2 separate regions of the Homo sapiens genome follow, and region 1 is linked to region 2. The links are contacts of gene promoters, found by promoter capture Hi-C in blood cells and fetal thymus (Javierre and others, 2016). All regions are on one chromosome and are shown on one strand. The core of a region is centred on a gene start or on the middle of the fragment in contact, and the rest is flanking DNA. Distances in the headings are between cores, read along the strand shown.

Region 1 (3,320 bases), core at 78-2,577, 210 kb before region 2:
TCTTTCAGGTGAACAAACTAATTGGAAATTAATTTGGACATTTTGCCTAAAGTCCTACAAATAGTGAGAGTCAGGATTAAAATTCTAGTTTTAAGCTTGATGTTCAGGTATCTTTCCAGTACTCCCTCCTTTCCATTAAATACAGATAGTCTTAACTCATATATTTGGTGTGTGCATTAGTTTTCACTGACTAGCTTGACCTTTTGCTTTTTTCTCATAGATAGGACTTTAAGACGAATTTGTTTTATTAGACCGAATTTGGAGGAAGCATTGAATTTTGAAGCAAGATCTAAATTTTAATCCATTTAGTAGTGGTGTAGTAGTGTAGTAGAAGGTTAAATAACCTTAAGAGCTTTAGTTTTCTTATATATAAAATGGTGTTGGGCTTCCTACTAATTAAATCCATGGCCCTTCTCATGCCCATGCAGAGTCCACGTGAGGGGTGGTATGGGCAAGATATCTTTCTCTCTCTCTCAATCTCTCTCTCTCTGTCTCGTCTGCAAATCCCACAAACTCAATCAGCTTTCCTCATTTTTTGGTAGTTGCCACTATTCTGTCCCTTGGGGTTTTCTTTTCTCAAAACCTTTTTGTGGAGTATTTCTCTCCAAAACAACCTTGTAGAACCCTTTTTTGCCCCAATTGCTACAGGAAAGATCGACTGGGCATAAAATAACAACAGTATTTATTGAGCTCTTACCACCTATCAGACAATTTGCTAAGTGTAAATTCCTTTAGTTTCCAGTCTTTTAATGTCTGCTAACCCTACCTCTGCTAAAATTGCCTGGGACCACTCTTGAACCTACTGAATCAGGGTTTCATTGTGGCATGTTAATTTTTTTTAAGATCAGCACCCTCAAGTCATTCCGATTAGCAGCCATTTGTGGATCACTGATAATTATTCCTTCTACCATGGCCTCTGTCTCTGTGTCCAGAAGATGCAGTCAATCAACAGAACAATTTTTGCCCTTTTGTTTCATAGATGTAATTTGAATCTCATAGTCTGCAGTCTTGCCCAGTATCCATGTCACTAGATTTCTGCCCTGTGAAGAATGTTTGATGCTTATTTTCACCAATGTTACTATATGTATTAAATGATACATACTCTAAAGATAGTCTCAAAAGATTAATCTCCCAATTTTGATGACTCTTCAAATTTCGTGAAGCCACAAAAGCAGAATTTCCTAAGTATTTTTTTGGCTCATTGGTCTATCACCTGTTGCCCACAATAAGGATTATTTGATCTTAAAAGTTGGAAACTATGTATTGTATCTTTCTCTTAGACATTTTTGGTGTATATTAGCATACTAAAGACTCTTAGGAGTTCTTCTGTTTAAAAATGATTTTACTTTGGTTAACTGGGCAGTTCCCAAACTGGAATTTTTTTATCATGTAATCCTATTAGTGGCCAGTGTGAAACACTCACTCCTTTATAGGTAGAATTTTCTGGGGGTTTTTCTCTTCTTTTTTCATTTGAAAAAGAGGAATAATATTTACTTCATATAGGGTGGTTTTGCGGGTGAAATGAGAGTTGAGGGGGAAGCATTGTTGAGTGGTTAACTAGGCGACGCAGTACTGGCCTGAGTGCCTTGGTGTTACATACTGGCCTTAGCAAGATAAAAACTCACTCTGCCATCAACCTTTAGATCACTCTTAACGGACTCAGACTTTGACTAATCTGTTAGTTCCAAAATTATACCTTATTTTTAATGCATAGCACAATAAGAGGTTAAAAGTTTCAAAACTGCTTATCTTGTGGAATTTTTGGCATGGCTAGAAAGTGTTTAGATTAACGAGTAATTTATATAATCAATGGTAGATATGACCACCATAGAGCATACACAAATTCATATTAGTCGAATAAATGAATCAGTCTTATTTGGATGTGTTAAATGTATTTCCAAAACACAGTTGAGTTCAGTCATTAAACTGTTTGCTTTTTAAAACATCTTGATCTGTTATGTTTCAGGCTGAAGCACTTTTAATGTCTTACGGTAATAGTTACCAAGAAGATTAAACCTCTTAGTACGCATGTAATAGGAAGGACTTTTAATTGATGTTTTGCTGGCAGACTCCACAGGAGCTGAGTTTAGTGTACTTTTCCGACTGTGCTTGTCTAGTTTCCTAGGATTCTGAAGTAGCTCATGGCTGTTTCCCTCTGTTCCCATCACTGCTTCTGTCACTGCAGTGTCCCCATCTACAACAGCTGCCATTTGTCAACCCAGGGAAGGTATTTCTTTTTGGAGTTAGTTCATCAATTATTAAAAGGTTCACTGAAATCATCAGAAGTTATTTATTGGTAACCCTGTTTAATTGTAGAGGATCAAGCAGAAATTAAAGTACCCTGGACCAACAAGGAAATCAGTACCCGATTCTTGGTATCTTTGTTCCTCTTTTATAAAAGGAATATATATTTGTTAAGCAGATATTATGTTCAAATTGATCATCAGTTTTTGCAAGTAGGAATGTTACGTAAATGAGAATCTTCAAAGGTTTTGGAGTAATTTATAAAGTAGATACAAATTTTGCATTAAACTCCCACTTTCATTAAACTTTTATTACTAAAGCTTCAGAGAAATAAGATATAGATAATATTTATGAGCCTTTCATATCAATTTTTTTTCAAACTTTCTGCATATATAACCCCCTTTTAAATAGCTGTTGGTGTCTCACAAGCCCTCTGGTATTGATTTAAATTATTTTGATTTTAATGTAACAGATATTAACAATAGTAAAAATAGATGTAAATTCCTCAGGGTTGTCTTCTTGTGCAACTATAAACAGATTTACAGATTTAAAACAAACCACAGAACCAGTTACATTCAAATTAGCAACATATATTTAATATGTTAGATGATAATGTCTGTAATACTGACTGGTATACCATACTTTCTTTTCTTTTATATTTTTGTTAACATTTACATAACATAAAACTTAAAATTTGAAAGTTATGGAATTCATTGGCTTCCAGTACATTAACAATATTGTACATCCATTAGCACTATCTGTGTAATTCACAACATTTTCATCACTCCAAAAAGAAACCCTATACCCGATAAGTAGTCACTGTAAGTTCTTTTTTAGTTCATTATATCAGGACTGCTGGTATGCCATGTGATGACTCAATTTTCTCACCATTTTTCTGCATTCAAGGCACTGAGAAACTCACTGATAATGTAATTTCGCTTTCACTTGGTAGGATGCGTCATTTACATATTAGGTTCACCTCTGCTCCTTTTTATTTAGTCCTCAACGATTAAATTATAACTACTTGACACTAGTACACCCCTAAACAGGAATGTGAAAACCAAACATGATGCAGT
Region 2 (3,149 bases), core at 216-2,715:
TTCCACAGGCACCCCGATGGCCTGCCCTCTATCTACACCCTCTTGAACAGGGCCCATTCTCTCTCCCTCCCCACTCCACTCAGGATGTGCCACACAGCCTTGCCCCTGGAGGAGGGAGAGGCCAACTGAGACCCTCCCCACCTCACCAAGTCCTATTAAACACACCCAAACCCCCACGCTCACATATTCACGAATGTTCTTGGTCTTCACAGCCTTATAGGAAGCATAAGCTGGACACAGCATCCCAAACACCAGCCTGGAAGAGCAGCCATGGGGAGTGTGAGGGGCACCATGCCCCACTCCCACCTTGCCAAGTGGCCATTTCCCCCCACTGGGGTGCAAGGTGGCAGTACCCGCCCTGTTTTTCTCGCTTGGCTTGTACAACCCGTGCCTGAGTCAGAGCCCTGGAGGCCACCTCCCCACCCTGCTGTTTACAAACATCCCAAGCCTGCCCAGGCCTGCACCGGTGGCCCATGGGTGCATGATGGAGTGAGAGGACAGCCACTCCACGAAGTGGGTGAGAACACCAGACTGTCCCCTCCCATGGGCATGCAATCAGGCCCAGGGTCACCAGACCTGACACTGCTGGGTTGCAGATAGGGCTATGTGAGCCAGATGTTGGCATACTCAAAGGTGAGGAATAGGATGGTGAGTCATGTGACTGCTCAGATGGCAAGCAGGCACCTGGATTCTCCGCCCACAACGTGCCATATCACCTTGTGTTTGCCAAGGGGCAGCAAGGTAGGCCTGTGGCCCTCGGCTCCACGCATCTGTTTGCAGTGTGTGTGGCGTGCGGCAGGGGTCGTTCTCAGCCAACGAGGCTTGGTGGGGCGGGTAGCCTGCGGTGCCCCAGACACCGCGTGCAAGCCCACAGGTCCGTTAACCCTTGCATGGAGTGCTGGAGGGTGGAGCTCAGAAAGTTCCTCCTCCCACTAGACGTCCACAGCTTCCACCACAGGGGCGGGACGGCACCCCGGGGTAGAGGAGGTCTGAGGGCGGCCATACTCACACCACCAGGCGACAGATCATCCAGGACACCATCTTGCCGGCCTTTGGGACGTGGGGAGGACCCCAGGAAGCCGCTCAGAAGGACGTTCACTCAAGGGCTGGGACGGGGGGTGATCAGGGCAGTTGCGGGAAGCAGAGGGGCGATCCGGCTGTCCCTCGGCGGAGGCAGAGCCCGCCGCCCACGGCCTCCGACTGTGCAGTTCAGGGGACCTGGAGAATGGGGAGACCCGAGGCAAAGCGGCCCCGGCGGGGAGGAAGCCGACTTGGGAGCGGGCGCGCCCCGCGGCCGGGGCAGTTACAGCTCCCACCCGCCCTTTCTGCCGCGGAGAACCTGGCGCTCGGCCCTTGCTGCTGGTCCCGCGCTGGAGCGGGTCGCCGCGGTTCCAGCGCGCCGGGCCACCAGCACCGGCCTACAGGGCGGAGTTCGCAACTCACTTGAAAGTTGCACGGAACCGAGTGCTGCCCAACCCCAGGGCTCCGGCTTGCCACGCAGGCGCAGTGTAGCCCCGGAGGGGGCGGGGCGAGGTCAGGGAGGCGAGAGGCCGGCCCCTTAAAGGGGCGATGTGCCGCGGGACTCGCGCGTGGGGCCCACAGTGGAGCCACCTTCCCAATCGGAAAGATTAGCGTGTGGGAAGCTGTAACAAAAAAGCAGGGGGAGTGCGGGGGTCGGCACACAAAGAAAATCTGGACTCCAGAGTTTAAGCGACCCTTCACTGGCTTTTCCCGGTGTCTTTCCCTCTCGCCTCATTTTCCCCTCTGTGAACCGGGTAAAGGCATGAGATGCGGTTGGTGGGGTAGAGGGAAGGATCTCCTCTGCAGGCTCAGTCAGGAGCTGGAAGGAAGCTTGGCTGAGCGCCAGCAAGTCCGGGTCTCACACCAGTGGGTCCAGGAGGGAAAGGGGGGAGGTGTGGGGGGAGAGGGAACCTGAGGGACTTTTTGCCCCACCAGGTTTCAGGGGTTCCCTTCTCTCTGGGATGCCTTTCCAGATCCCTGACTCCGGGGCAGGCTGACCGCGATGATTTGAGGCATTCTGGGTAGAGCTCTCAGCTCCCACACTCCTTCAGCAGAAGTTTGAAATTCCACCTATTCCTCTGAGCCAAGTACACAAATAACCCTGGGCCCTTAATAGTAGTATCAACCATTGCCATTTTGTAATGCACGTTTGCACGCAAGGTCTTAGTCTTTGCAAACTTCTTTTAACCATGTAGGAAATAGGATGCTCAGTGGTGAAAAGTAACTTTCCTGGTATCACCCAGTGGTATTTATTGCTGGCTGGTGGCTACATGCTTGGCTTGATCAGTCTTCTGAGAGATCAGCAGCTGCAGGCTGAGTGGCCCTGCAGAGGGCCATGGAACCGGATAAGTTCCTCTGGGAGGGAGGCAGATGCCAGGAAGAAGGGGGAAGGCTCTAAAAAAGAAGGCAAACGTTGCTGCTTCTACTACTTGCCCTGTGAGGTTTCATTCTTTTTGACATCTTCAGCTTACTGCCTCTGTTGTTCCCTCTGAAAATAGTGTCCCCCCACCTTGCAGAGGGTGGGAGCAAAGCTGTCCGGGCATGTGGGGTGGAAACACAGGCAGTTACTGCTTTTTATTGGAGCCACAGTTAACCCCCACCAGCTATCATAAGGATGGAATAGGTAATCATGGGGCCAGGGAAAGGAGGCTTCTGGGGGATAAATAAACACACGGTGATTATATGGTCTTAATTACTGTCATCAGTTTTATTGGTATTGCTGGGTGTGAGAGCCAGCAGTGAAACCAGCCCACAGGAGAAACTTCCCCGAGGCCCCATGTCTCCCTCTCCTCTCTTAACCAACCCTCACATTTACCTGTCCCCCCTTACACACACACATTGGAGTAACCAAAAAGGCCAAGGGCTAGAGGAACTCCTAAGGAAGGCCCCAGCCACTGTCCATCTTTAGGCACAGACATGGTTCTCTAGGTGAAAAGTGTCCTGGGTCTCCCTGAAGGAGGAAAGCTGTGACTGAATAGGGGAGCAGCTGAAAGGGACATCCATGACTCAGGAGGTCACTGCACACGTGAGCCTCGGGTCCTTTGGTGCGTGCTGCAGAACTGTCCCTTCCCTGCTGGCTGCCTTCTGGGGCCACGCACCTGACCTCAGCATCACAGGCCTCTGTCTAC

What was found. The method cuts DNA at HindIII sites, captures the fragments that hold promoters and counts their contacts. A CHiCAGO score of 5 or more calls a contact.
Region 1: a contact is called between a fragment that was not itself captured here and the fragment with the promoter of REEP4 in region 2, in 1 of 17 cell types (naive B cells). The highest score is 5.1, in naive B cells.

The regions. Positions count from the first base shown.
Region 1 is chr8:21,935,374-21,938,693 of GRCh38, forward strand. The region is part of intron 1 of XPO7 (exportin 7); the gene reads left to right. Among named protein-coding and RNA genes, the nearest start is that of XPO7, 17 kb to the left of the region's middle. The HindIII fragment of the contact is 2,469 bases long and covers 94-2,562 here.
Region 2 is chr8:22,140,442-22,143,590 of GRCh38, forward strand. It overlaps REEP4 (receptor accessory protein 4), which reads right to left and starts at 1,466. Exons shown (of 8, transcript NM_025232.4): 1 at 1,010-1,466; 2 at 184-256. The coding sequence starts at 1,041. RefSeq lists an enhancer at 1-455 and silencers at 1,220-1,369, 1,380-1,509. The HindIII fragment of the contact is 1,867 bases long and covers 1-1,849 here.